Regions from separate parts of the Homo sapiens genome. Here region 1 is linked to region 2. Evidence: promoter capture Hi-C in 16 types of primary human blood cells and fetal thymus (Javierre and others, 2016). All regions are on one chromosome and are shown on one strand. Each heading gives the region's core, a stretch centred on a gene start or on the middle of the fragment in contact. The rest is flanking DNA. Distances are from core to core; before and after follow the strand shown. Region 1 has its middle 42 kb from the start of RSPH1. Region 2 holds the start of TFF2 (trefoil factor 2).

The links. Contacts are between HindIII fragments. The CHiCAGO score rates a contact against its expected background, and 5 or more counts as called.
Region 1: a contact is called between a fragment that was not itself captured here and the fragment with the promoter of TFF2 in region 2, in 2 of 17 cell types (total CD8 T cells and activated CD4 T cells). The highest score is 6.6, in total CD8 T cells.

Annotation. Positions count from the first base shown.
Region 1 is chr21:42,451,486-42,457,841 of GRCh38, reverse strand. No RefSeq gene overlaps it. Among named protein-coding and RNA genes, the nearest start is that of RSPH1, 42 kb to the left of the region's middle. The HindIII fragment of the contact is 2,938 bases long and covers 2,606-5,543 here.
Region 2 is chr21:42,347,632-42,354,422 of GRCh38, reverse strand. TFF2 (trefoil factor 2) reads left to right here and starts at 3,429. Exons shown (of 4, transcript NM_005423.5): 1 at 3,429-3,544; 2 at 4,393-4,542; 3 at 6,791. The coding sequence starts at 3,466. It overlaps LOC105372815 (a long non-coding RNA gene), which reads right to left and starts at 2,130. Exons shown (of 3, transcript XR_937755.3): 1 at 1,122-2,130. The HindIII fragment of the contact is 5,593 bases long and covers 440-6,032 here.

The DNA of each region.
Region 1 (6,356 bases), core at 2,825-5,324, 100 kb before region 2:
ATATCCCAATCTAATTAAAAAATTAAAAACATGTTATATCAGCTTTCTTGAAGTATATTTTGTAGACAGTAAAACATCCATTTTAAGTGAACAGTTCAATGAGTTTGGACAAATGTAGGCAACCATGTGACCACCTAATATGGTTTGGCTGTGTCCCCACCCAAATCTCATCTTGAATTGTAGCTCCCATAATTCCCACATGTTGGGGAGGGACCTGGTGGGAGATAAGTGAATTGTGGGGGCAGTTTTCCCCATACTGTTCTCGTGGTAGTGAATGAGGCTTGCAAGATCTGATGATTTTTATAAGGGGCTTCTGCTTTCGCTTGGCTCTCATTCTCTGTCTTGCCTGCTGCCATGTATGATGTGCCTTTCGTCTTCTGCCATAATTATAAGGCCTCCCCAGCCATGTGGAACTGTGAGTCCATTAAACCTCTTTCCTTTATAAATTGTCCAGTCTCAGGTATGTCTTTATTAGCAGCGTGAGAACAGACTAATATACCACCCTACAATCAGCACACAGATTCCCGTCAGCCTGAAAATATCTTCGTGCCCATTTGCAATCCATTCCCCTACTCCCAGCATTAAGCGTCTGATGTGCTGCTTTCTGTCACCACAGATTGGATTTGTCTCTAAATAGTTGTATATAAATTGAATCATGCAGTACATCCTCTTTTGCTTCTGGTTTCTTTATGCTACTATAAGTGATGTTTTTATTTTACTTACTGATTGTTCACTGCTAACATAACATTTGTATTCCGCCTCTGTCCCCCTCTCTGCTGTCTTCTCTTCACCTCACGTATTGGCAGAGGAGGTGTTACGTGTTCACTGGCTTATTAGTCCATTGCTCACCACCTTCCACTGAAATATAAGCTCTTTGAGAGTGAGCTTGTATCTGATCCACTGCTGCTTTCCCAGCAGTGTTAATGGCACCCAAACATTCCCTCATAAATGTCTGTTGAGTGGATGACTGAGGCGCCGGACTCCACACTTGAGGGCTGAGGTGAGGAAGGACGAACTCTTCCCAGTGCTGAGCCTGAGGAGGGAGTGTGGGCTGAGGAGGGGGCGTGGGCTGAGGAGGGAGCGTGGGCTGTGGAAGGGCAGACAAGACGGTGAGCTCATGGGTCTCATTGGCGGTCAGGAGAGGGTCCTCTGTAACAGAGGCCTCCAACCCCTGTTGGGAACCAGGCTGCACAACAGGAGATGAGCAGTGGGTGGATGAGTAAGTGAAGCTTCGTCTGTATCTACAGCCACTCCCCATTGCTCTCATTACTGCCTGAGCTCCGCTTCCTGTCAGATGAGTGGTGGCATTAGTCTCATAGGACTGTGAACGCTACTGTGAACTGTGCATGTGAGGGATCTGGGTTGTGAGCTCCTTATGAGAATCTAATGCTTGATTATCTGTCACTGTCTCCCATCACCCCCAGATGGGACTGTCTAGTTGCAGGAAAACAAGCTCAGGGCTCCCACTGATTCTACATTATGGTGAGTTGTATAATTATTTTATTATATATTACAACGTGATAATAGAAATAAAGTGTGCACAATAAATGTAATTGCACTTGAATCATCTCAAAACCATTCCCCACCCCCACCCCACCCTGGTTTGTGGAAAAATTTTCTTCCACGACACTTGTCCCTGGTGCCAAAAGGCTGGGAACTGCTGCTCTACAAGAGGGCCAGCTGCTGCTGGGCTGTGAAACCCACTGAAAAGAAGGACAAATACCAGGTTTTTGGTAATGGGAGGACATTACCAGGGCAGAAATGCCCAATGTGAAGCTCAACTGCACATGTGAATTTGACTGGACTGCAGGGTGCAAAGACGTTTTGACCCAGTGTCACTCTGGGGGTGTGTGAGGAGGTTTCTGAATGAGACGAACATTCGAATCAGGAGACTGTCAAGCAAACGGCCCTCCCCAGGGTGGGTGGGCCTCATCCAATCAGTTGAAGGTCTGAATGGAACAAAAGGCTAAGAGGAAACTCCTCATGTCTGACGGCCTTTGAACTGAGGCATTGGCTTTTTCCTGCCATTGGACTTGAATGAAAACATCGATTCTCTCTGGGTCTCGAGCCTACTGGCCTCCAGACGGGAGGCCAACAGCTCCCGCAGATCGTGGGGCTTCTCAGCTTCTGTAAGAGTGTGAGCCAATGCCCCTCTCTCCTTCCCTCTCCCAGCCTGTATCTGTATGTTTGTATCCGTATGGATGTGGGTCCTGTTTCCCACTGGCTGTTTCTCTGGAGAACTCTGGTTCCTGCCCTCTGTTTTGTTGTTTGTGGCTCTAAGTCACGGTATGTTAAAGTTCAGGTTTAAGAGGATGCGGGCTGCCATGTCTAAACATGTGGGCATAAGTACAAAAATCCTTACGTCATCAGATTGTGTTTCATCATATGGGCTAATTTCTTTCCTCAGGCTAAGCTGCAAGTTCTTGTCTGGAGTCGAAGGACCAATAATATCGCCTTCACCTGCCCCCTCCTGGTCCACTCACCAGGATGCCAGGCGGGACTTTTGCACCACCCTGACTGTGAGGCAATGCCCTGGGGATCCTGCTAAGACACAGCTGCTGACACGGAGACGGGGGTGCCTGAGGCCCTGCATTTGTAACAAGCTTCCAGGCAATGCCTGTAATCCTGGTCCTCGGTCCAGAGTTTGAGAAGCAAAAAAATAAATAATTTATAGGGCCCCTTGCCTCTCCTCAAAGTCTGGTTATATTTTCTAGATAATAAGTGCTATCAGTACCTCGCAAGGAGAACAAAATGGCTCAAGGATAGCTGGAGGCAAAGAAAGTGCAGTGTGTCTTCCAAAATCACTAACTCAAATAAACGGGCTGCCTCTCCGGGGAGGCTCCTGGGAGGAGAGTGTGCCTTCGGTGAGCTCATTCGCAGGCGTTTCTCCTTCGGGATTTACGTTGCTTTCGTGCTATAGCTTCTTTGGAAAATTGCTTGGTTTATTGTCCTAACACAGTTTTGTCTCACTATGGGACACAATGAAAGAGAATGAGTTAATGGTTGAAAGAAATACATTTTGGAGAGAGAAGGAGAAACATGACATTTCCAGATGATTAATTTTTTAATGACTTCTTGGAGAACTTTGTTTGAAGACTTCACCAGGAAGATTGCATGTATACATGTGTGTTTCTTAATCCATTTTTGTGGCCTTAAGTCCTAGGAAAAAATGGTACTGGACAGCCGGAAGTGGCATTTACTTGGAACCACACAGGAAGAAGTACATCATAATTCTGGGAGTTTGCTGTGGCAATTTGCAAAGGCCTTTCACACAGCTGGACCCCTCTCACTTTTCATGAAGAACCCCCCACGCGCCGGCAGACAGCGGCTGCACACACATTCAGGAGATTGCAGGAAATAATTTCCAACAGCAAATGAGACATTAGTTATTCAATGCTGATAAACAACAGCAGCGCTTCATCCGAAGGAATTCCACTGGGATCTGAGTTAAAGCTCAGTTCCGTCCTCTACTCATGGTGACCTCGGACAGAGTCTCTGTGCCTCGGGCCCACCGTTGTAAAATCATGTGGCCTGTCGATGGGTCCACGTCACTTGCAGCATCTTAGTCCTCATTCTGGAGGACACGATGTGCCCTCTTAGCAGTGAGCCCTGGAGGGGCTGACTCGCAGCCGTGTTTACCTATTCCTGTGGTCCAAATGCTCCTGCCAGGGCTGATTCAATTACATCTCTAGCAGTGAACTTCAGCTGGATGGACTGACCTTCCAACCCTGAACTTCAAGGTGAGTGTGTGAAGCATGCCGGCTGTGTCTTGCCTTGGGAGAGTAGGTGGCTCACCCCGGGCGGCTGAGGCGATGAGGCAGGGAGGAGCAGGAGTGGGAACATCTGGTTGGATAGCAGGGCTGGAGAGAGGCGAGAGCTTGGGGGCTCTCTTCAGGTGTGCTCCAGGTGCCAGAGTCGCTGCTGGCCAAGGATCCCGGAAGAGACACAGCTCGGGATGAATCCCTGGAACCAAAAGTCTGTCCAGTGCTCCGCAGGGAGCAGACAGCGTTCCACTTAGTGCCCCTGGCCTGGCTCCACCCACCCGTCTTTCCTAGACCCAGGGACTTGGCCTCCTCTCTCTCCTGACCCCGCCTGCACATGGGCCTCAGCCCTTCTGTCCTTCCATCCTCTGTAGAGAGAATGTTGTTTCCTTTTACAGGAAGAGGCACTGGCCTGAAGCGCACAGCTGTGATGATCCCAGCAGGTCTGTGCAGCAGCTCAGCTGGCCTCTCCCTGCAAACTAACGTTCGTGCCTGCTGCAGGGGTGGGCTGGGGTGGCTCATATCAGCTCAAGAGAGCTGAGTTTTAAATTTTCACGCAGTCTGCAAATCAATTGTCAAAACACTGGCAGCCCAGAATCAGCCCTGGTGCATTTACATCATGGAAACTGGAAAACACAGCAGACACTGCGAGTCAGCCCCTCCAGGGCTCACTGCTAAGAGGGCACGTGTCCTCCAGAATGAGGACTAAGATGCTGCAAGTGACATGGACCCATCGACAGGCCGCATGATTTTACAGCAGTGAGCCCGAGACACAGAGACTGTGTCTGAGGTCACCATGAGTAGAGGACCGAACTGGGCTCCAACTCAGAGCCCCTGGATCCCAGTGGAATTCCTTTGGATGAAGCGCTGTTGTTGATGTTTATCTGCATTGAATAATTAATGTCTCATTTGCTGTTGGAAATTATTTCCTGCAATCTCCTGAATGTGTGTGCAGCCACCATCTGTCGGCCTTGGGGATGAGGGGAGAGGAGAAGCATGAGACAGGGTTAAGGAGAAGCCTCTGTTGAAGAATTATTGTGTCAGGGCTGCTCCCAGCTGGGCTAAAGGACTGGAGTCCAACAGTGTGGAGCCTCGTGGTGTCCACGGTGCACTGCACTTAAATGTTCTAGAATTTGAGTGTGGGGCCAGCCAAGAGGACTACGAGGCTGGACACAGGGCTCAGCTGCCCTCACAGCACAGCCACCACATCACACGGAGGCAGTGAGGTCCGTGCAGGACTTGGTCGCACCTCCGCGTGGCTCCCCCTGCCCAGGCCCACACCTACGTCCAGGGGCAGTGTCCGCAAAGTTCCAGTTCTGCTCGGACTTCCTCCGTAGCAGCATCACACAAGTGTTCAGCTCGAGATGTGCACCGATTCCTTTCCAACCTTCGTCTCCATAAAGGTCTGTCTGCTCAGCAGGAGTGCACATGTGCGACTCCAGACTCCTAACACACCTGTGCCCATTCGCGCTATGCCTGAGTGCCCTGGTGGGAGCCCTGAGGCCAGGGTTCCATGCAGACCTGTGAAGGGAATACATCGGTACTTCTCAGCTGGGGATGATCCTGCTCCCCCAGGGACATTTGGCAGCATGTGGAGACATCTTTGTTTATCACAACTGGTGGGCTGGGGTGAGGGACGTACTGCTGCTTCAGTAGGGGAGGGCCAGGGATGCTGCTGGACATCCCACAATGCACAGGGCGTCCTCTGACAAAGATGTATCTGGCCCCAAATGTCAATAGTGCCAAGGCTGGGAAATCCTGGCCTATAGGAGCAGAGAAGCTTTGCAGGGGGGTCACTGGTCCCACTGGACTTGGGGCTGCCTGGAAGCCCGGCACACGGTCACTATTGCAACCCCTGGGAAGGAGTGACAGACAAGACGATGAGAGACCGCAACAACAGGACAAGGCAGACACGACTGACATGAATTGTGCAGAGGACGCCTGAGCTGGGATTCAGGGGCAGCAAGGTGGGCTGGCGGCCAGGAGGGCTTCCTGGAGGGGGTGGGCTGGAACTGGGCGGCATGAGAAGCACAGAGCTTTCCCAGCTTACCTTTTACTTTTTAACTCTATGATAGTTTTTATTTTTATTTATTTATTTATTTTGAGATGGAGTCTCACTCTGCCGCCCAGACTGGAGTGCAGTGGTGTGATCTCGGCCCACTGCAACCTCCGCCTCCCAGGTTCAAGTGATTCTCCTGCCTCAGCCTCCTGAGTAGCTGGGATTACAGGTGCCTGCCACCATGCCTGGCTAATTTTTGTATTTTTAGTAGAGATAGGGTTTCACCACATTGGCCAGGCTGGTCTCGAACTCCTGACCTCAAGTGATCCACCTGCCTTGGCCTCCCAAGTGCTGGGATTATAGGCGTGAGCCACTGCGCCCGGCCCATGATTTCTTTTTTTTTAAATATTTAAATCTTTGATGTTTTTTTTTGGTATGAGGAATGAGGAGTGATTCCAACCTTCTTTTCCCCAAATGTGATCCAGTTGTCCCAGTGTCATTTATTTAATCACCTTCCTTCCCCCACTGCTATGACTGCTCCCTTTACTGTATATACCTACATAAAAGCAGGTACTTACCATAGGTCCTGCCCTCAG
Region 2 (6,791 bases), core at 2,180-4,679:
TGAGAAAGTACACTTCTGTTGGTTAAGCTACACAATGTGTAGTATTTTGTTACAGCAACCTGAGTGAACTAATACAAGCAGTTAATTTACTTGCAGGTTAACTTGATTCCTGCAAGACTTGTTTTAAAGTTTTGTTCGAATGGATTTTGAGTAGCTTTCCTCTAGAAAGATCAGCCTTCTTTTTACGGCATGGCCTTTATTGAATGCTTGAAGTGGTCAACACCTCTGGCTGCTCTGAGCTCAAATGCTTTCCAGCCCCACGAACCCTACACTAGTTGTTCAGTTTAGCCTCCCCAGTGATTGTTCTGTCCCCAGGGGCTACTTAGCCTGGCCTTGTGGGCACGAACAGCATAGTATTTGATGAAAAGCTCAAAGGACACACTTTTATATTTCTGGAGCTTCCTTCTCTTACCTTGATAACCCGCCTGCCTCAGAAGCTTCCAATTCTGACCTCTGTCTCCTCAGCCCGATGGGACTTCAGTGCTATTTGGGTTCCCCTCCCTGTGCTGTAGTCTGGAGAGCGTCTCCAGGAAACCAAGGCAGCCATGGGACTCCCCCTATTGTTTCCCTTCTCTCAGGGATCGCTGTCTGGCACTGCCTGCTGCTCAGCATCTGCAGACTGTTACTTATGTAGTTTTAGAGTTACTCATGGTGGGAGGCTAGCCTGGTACCAGTGACTCCATAGTCAAAAGCGGAAGTCCACATGGGTGATAGCTGAGGTGGTTCCCATTTGTTGACTTTCTATGTGAACTGATGGAAAGTATCATCCCCAAAGTGTGCAAAATGGAAGTGAGCAGGGGTGGAGAAGGATAAACAGAAAGAGGAGGGCGCCAGCCCTGAGTGCCTGGATGGCGCTGAGATCATGCGTTGAGAGTGGCAACAATTCAAGGTAGGTGTCGGCCATGCTAGGCAGATGGCATAGGCACAGAGACAGTGGGAAACAGCAGTGAGGAAGACGGTGGGTGAAGTGAGCACTGTGGAAATCAGGCTGGAGAAGCAGGAAGGAAGGATAGACAGGAGGGGGCTCACAGGGGAATAGGGGATTGGAGGGCTTTAGGATTCAGACAAAGGGAGAATGTTAGGAGCTTAGGACATCCTGGGCAGAAAGGACATTTGCATACCCTCTTTCAGAGGTGGAGCTCAAGTTCTGAGTGTGGTCATGGGAGGGTGGCAGAAGTGGCAGAAGTGGAGTGGAGATGGAAGTTCCTAGAGATGAGGAAAAATAAAATCTGAGCGACTGTGAATTTTGATGAAACATCGACCGCCATGTTGAAGATGGCTGGGATGTGGCCAAGTCTTAGCATGACAAGGAACACAGTGAACTCAGTGCTGAAATTCTTAACGAAAGGGACAGGCTGCACAAAGGTCGGCAGATGACAGCAGGGCAGGGACTCCGGACATGGCGCCCTTCCCAGCCTGCATCTCCAAGGAGGATGGTTTTTGCATGAGGGTGAAGACTTGGGGCTCAAAGTCAATGTCCAGCCCCCAGTCTGAGCCCATGTGATGGGGACGTGGCCACCAAGTACAGTTGTGGAGGTTGTGAACAGCTCCACTTTCAACTAGCGATGCCACTCTATTGCAGACGTCCCATCTCGTGTAATGGTTTCCCAACTCTGTGGGCACTCAGTGTCCCTGCGTGGGGGCCTGAGCAGGATTCCAGGGAAGCATGCCTATGACAACACAGGCTTCCGCCAGGGCCAGGAGAGTGAGAGAGGCTGAGAAGTGGTCTCTTTTGCATGGGTCAGGTGGTCGCAGCAGGAATCCTGAAGGGGCTGCAGTGAGCGGTGGGAAGTCGAGTTGATGGGGAGGAAGCAGAGAGGAGAGGTGGGTGGGAATATGAGAGAAAACAATGACTCAGTCACTTATATCATGATGGTGACTAAAGTGACAGGGATGTAGAACAAGGAAACTGACCTTGCCAGAGTTTTCATGGATCGAGTCCCTGTGGTTGCCCAGTGGTGAACAGTCAGCAGAGAGCCTGGAGGTACTTGACCCGGACCCAGAGGAGCCCTGGAGGATGGAGCCTGGAGGACGGGGGCCTGGAGAATGAGGGTCTGGAGGACGAGGGTCTGGAGGAACAGGGGCCTGGAGGACGAGGGTCTGGAGGAAGAGGGCCTGGAGGACAGGGGCCTGAAAGATGGGGGCCTGGAGGATGAGGGTCTGGAGGATGAGGGTCTGGAGGAGCAGGGGCCTGGAGGATGAGGGCCTGGAGGACAAGAGCCTGGAGGACAGGGGCCTGAAAGATGGGGGCCTGGAGGATGGGGCCTGGAGGATGGGGGCCTGGAGGACGGGGGCCTGGAGGATGATGGCCTGAAGGATGAAACCTGGAGGATGGAGCCTGGAGGATGGAGCCTGGAGGATGAGGGCCTAGAGGATGGGGGCCTGGAGGACAGGGGCCTAGAGGATGGAGCCCTGGAGAATGGGGGCCTGGAGGATGGAGCCTGGGGGACGAGGGCCTGGAGGATGGGGGCCTGGAGTATGGGGCCTGCTCTCCAGACCCTGAGGACAGCCCCGTGGTGGACCAAGGATTTTGGGTTTCCTGCGTCTCTGGGCCCCTGACTGCTCAACCATCAGAAACAGACTGGCAACCCCCTGTCATTTCCCTGGCGTGGGGAACTTCGGGTCCCCTCTGTCCTTCCCACCACACTTTTCCCTCTTTCTTTCCGGGTGTCTACTCTCTGGCTTCTGTCTTCTCTGTCAGGTCCACAGAATCCTTCTCCAGCACATCCTACCCCAGGAAGGCCATGGGCTGGGTCCCAGGTGCCATCTTTCAGAAGATGTAGAGCATTCCCATGGAACAAAAATAACCCATTTCAGGGGTTGGCTGAAAATGAACTTATTAAAACCTGCCTGTCACAGGCTACTCCGCTGACCCTGTCAGCCTCATCTCCATGGAGAGCAGCCCCTCCTGCTGAAGATGGGACAAAGGGCATCGTGCTGCGGTTGGGGAGGCTCTAACCACAGCCCTGGGAGCAGTCTCTTACCTCCTCTGAGATGCTTCCCTTCCTCAGGGAGGGGACTTTTCCATGCTATCTGCTGGCCTGTACATTTTCCCCAGTAAACTTGGCCCTAATATTTTCTAAATTCCTGTGGTCCCTGCCCACTCTATCAATAGAAATGCATAGCTTATCCCTTCCTGGGTGTGACCCTGTGTGTGCCCAGCCCCAGACCTGCACGTGGCCGGTTTTCCACGCTGGCAGCCTGGCATGACCCAACTCTCTGTCCAGGGCAGGAAGAGGTATCACCGAGCAGGGAGAGAGTCACCCTGGCCCGGAAGCCTCGCCTGCACAGGGCACAGCTGCCTCTTGCCTCCTCTTCGCCTCCACGGTGGAAGGGCTGGGGCCACGGGGCAGAGAAGAAAGGTTATCTCTGCTTGTTGGACAAACAGAGGGGAGATTATAAAACATACCCGGCAGTGGACACCATGCATTCTGCAAGCCACCCTGGGGTGCAGCTGAGCTAGACATGGGACGGCGAGACGCCCAGCTCCTGGCAGCGCTCCTCGTCCTGGGGCTATGTGCCCTGGCGGGGAGTGAGAAACCCTGTAAGTGAAGGAGAGGGTCTTTTTATGTGCTTTCTTTATTTCTCTTAAAGAAAAAAAAAAAGCACAACCATAAATTAACTTGAGAGGGGGAATGGCTATAAAGGCATCTGGCAATGTGTGTTGTTCACATGGGATTTGCCACTGCTCAGGAGGGTGGCTCCAAGAAGGGCCTCCCTCCTAGGGAAAGGCTGAGTGACGGCAGGTGTCAGCGGGCCCCGTGTCGGGCCAGGAGGGCATTCCCACCAAGGGTCCTTGGAGTCCCAGAGCACTCACCTCTCGCCTGGATCTTGGCCTTGGGTCCATCTGTTCACCCTCCTCTAGGAGGGTTTTGTTTTTGTTTTTTTCCGAGACAGGATCTGGCTTTGCCGCCCAGGCAGGAGTGCAGTGGTGTGATCTTGGCTCACTGCAACCTCTGCCTCCCAGGCTCAAGTGATCCTCCCACCTCAGCCGCCTGAGTAGCTGAAACCACAGTTGTGGACCATCATGCCCGGCCAATTTTTTTTTTTGTATTGTTTGTAGAGATGGGGTTTCGACATGTTGCCCAGGATGGTCTTGAACTCCTGAGCTCAAGCAATCTGCCCGCCTCGGCTTCCTAAAGTGCTGGGATTATAGGTATGAGCCACCATGCCTGGCTTTTTTTTTTTTTTCCTTTTAAACTAATATAACAATTTCAGCAAAGCCCTATCGGCTTCTCAGGAGGAAACCGCATTGCTTAAATATGGGCAAGATAAGACTTTGTGTTTCTCTATGTGGCAACAAGACAGTAGAGGCATCCCCTAGAACCTCTGAGAGAAGGAGCAGTGTGGTCTGGGGTACCAGGGTGGGGCCGACTGAGGGTCTTTCCACAGCCCCCTGCCAGTGCTCCAGGCTGAGCCCCCATAACAGGACGAACTGCGGCTTCCCTGGAATCACCAGTGACCAGTGTTTTGACAATGGATGCTGTTTCGACTCCAGTGTCACTGGGGTCCCCTGGTGTTTCCACCCCCTCCCAAAGCAAGGTAATCTTCCAGGGAATCTTCCTGGGCCAGCAGCTGGCAACCCAGGACCCAGCTTCACAGGCGGAGCCCAGAGCAGGGGCCGGAGGAGGCCCAGTTGCTAGTCTAGGGTTAGCCTGGGTGGGTTAGTCTCGAGCTAGCCCCGGTTGGTTAGTCTGGGGCTAGCCCAGGTTGGTTAGTCTAGAGCTAGCCCAGGTTGGTTAGTCTGGGGCTAGCCCAGGTTGGTTAGTCTGGGGCTAGCCCAGGTTGGTTAGTCTAGGGCTAGTGTAGGCTAGTTAGTCTAAGGCTAGCCCAGGTTGGTTAGTTTGGAGCTAGCGCAGGTTGGTTAGTCTGGGGCTAGTAGCCCAGGTTGGTTAGCCTGGAGCTAGCCCAGGTTGGTTAGTCTAGGGCTAGCGTAGGCTGGTTAGTCTGGGGCTAGCCCAGGTTGGTTAGTCTGGAGCTAGCCCAGGTTGGTTAGTCTGGGGCTAGTAGCCCAGGTTGGTTAGTCTGGGGCTAGCCCAGGTTGGTTAGTCTAGGGCTAGTGTAGGCTAGTTAGTCTAGGGCTAGCCCAGGTTAGTTAGTTTGGAGCTAGCACAGGTTGATTAGTCTGGGGCTAGTAGCCTAGGTTGGTTAGTCTGGAGCTAGCCCAAGTTGGTTAGTCTAGGGCTAGCATAGGCTGGTTAGTCTGGGGCTAGTAGCCTAGGTTTGTTAGTCTGGAGCTAGCCCAGGTTGGTTAGTCTAGGGCTAGCGTAGGCTGGTTAGTCTAGGGCTAGCCCAGGTTGGTTAATCGGAGCTAGCCCAGGTTGGTTAGTCTGGAGCTAGCCCAGGTTGGTTAGTCTGAGGCTAGTAGCCCAGGTTGGTTAGTCTGGGGCTAGCCCAGGTTTGTTAGTCTGGAGCTAGCCCAGGTTGTTTAGTCTGGAGCTAGCCCAGGTTGGTTAGTCTGGGACTAGCCTGGACTGCTAGTCTAGAGGTAGCCTAGAGGACTGCTAGTCTAGAGGTAGTCTAGGGCTAGCCCAGGTTGGTTAGTCTGGGGCTAGCCCATGTTGGTTAGTCTTAGACTAGCCTGGACTGCTAGTCTAGAGGTAGCCCAGGTTGTTTAGTCTGGTACTAGCCTGGACTGTTAGTCTAGAGGTAGCCCAGGTTGGTTAGGTTGGTTAGTCTGGGACTAGTCTGGACTGTTAGTCTAGAGGTAGCCCAGGTTGGTTAGTCTGGGACTAGCCTGGACTGTTAGTCTAGAGGTAGCCCAGATTGGTTAGTCTGGGACTAGTCTGGACTGCTAGTCTAGAGGTAGCCCAGGTTGGTTAGCCTGGGGCCAGCCTGGACTGTTAGTCTAGAGGTAACCCAGGTCAGCCAACAGTGAGATGAAAATTTCCCACCTACCCTGTTTCTACACTGTTAGTTCTTTCAACAGACATGTGTGTGTGGAGCCATCAGTTTTACTTTAGTTGAGAAAAAAATATATATATATATAGTAGGTCTCCTCTAGTTTTTGAAGTGTGACTTCTGAAGAAGCTTCCATGGGGAAATGAAGGTATTTAATAGGACAGCAGTAACATAAGGGCTGACAGCCCTCAAATGTTAGGGAAGGAAGTGAAGCCTTCTAGGGTTCTTTGGGAGTGAGTTTTATGTTAGTGCACGGGATCAGGACCCAAGTTGTAACGCCGACGAGTGCTCAAAGGAAGGTTGTGTGTGTGTCGTGCACCTGTGTGCGTGGAACCAGGCACGTCCTCTGGAGAAGGAGGATTCATCCCCAAGATTGTTGCTGGGAGGCTTGCTGGGCCCCGCAGGGAAACCAGGCAGATGGTGGATTGTTCACGAGCGCCCACTGAATGGCAGTGTCTTTGGGAATCAATACCATGTCCAAACGCTTTCCATCTTACCAAGGTGCCCACAAACCTTTTCTCATCTTGGCCCGGGGGACCACCCCATTTACTGAGAACACTGAGTCCCGAGAGGCAAAATGATTTCCCCAAGGCGGGGGACTCCAGAGCTTCTGACTGTGACCACCCCACATGGGCCCCACCTTCGCGGAGGACAGGCCAGCCAAGCGTCGCTGGGGCCGACACTTCCACAGTCCCCGGGGGAGGCGGTCCCAGGGGCCGACACTTCCACAGTCCCCGGGGGAGGCCGTCCCGGGGGATGCTGCCCCAGGCAGCACCTCATGATCCACGGAGGCTGCAAATCAGCGCTGCTCTCAGAGGAGGAAGGGGTGGAGCTTTCCAGGGCACAGCAGGCCTGACTGGGTCTCGGTGCTGTGCCTGTCCCATGGCAGA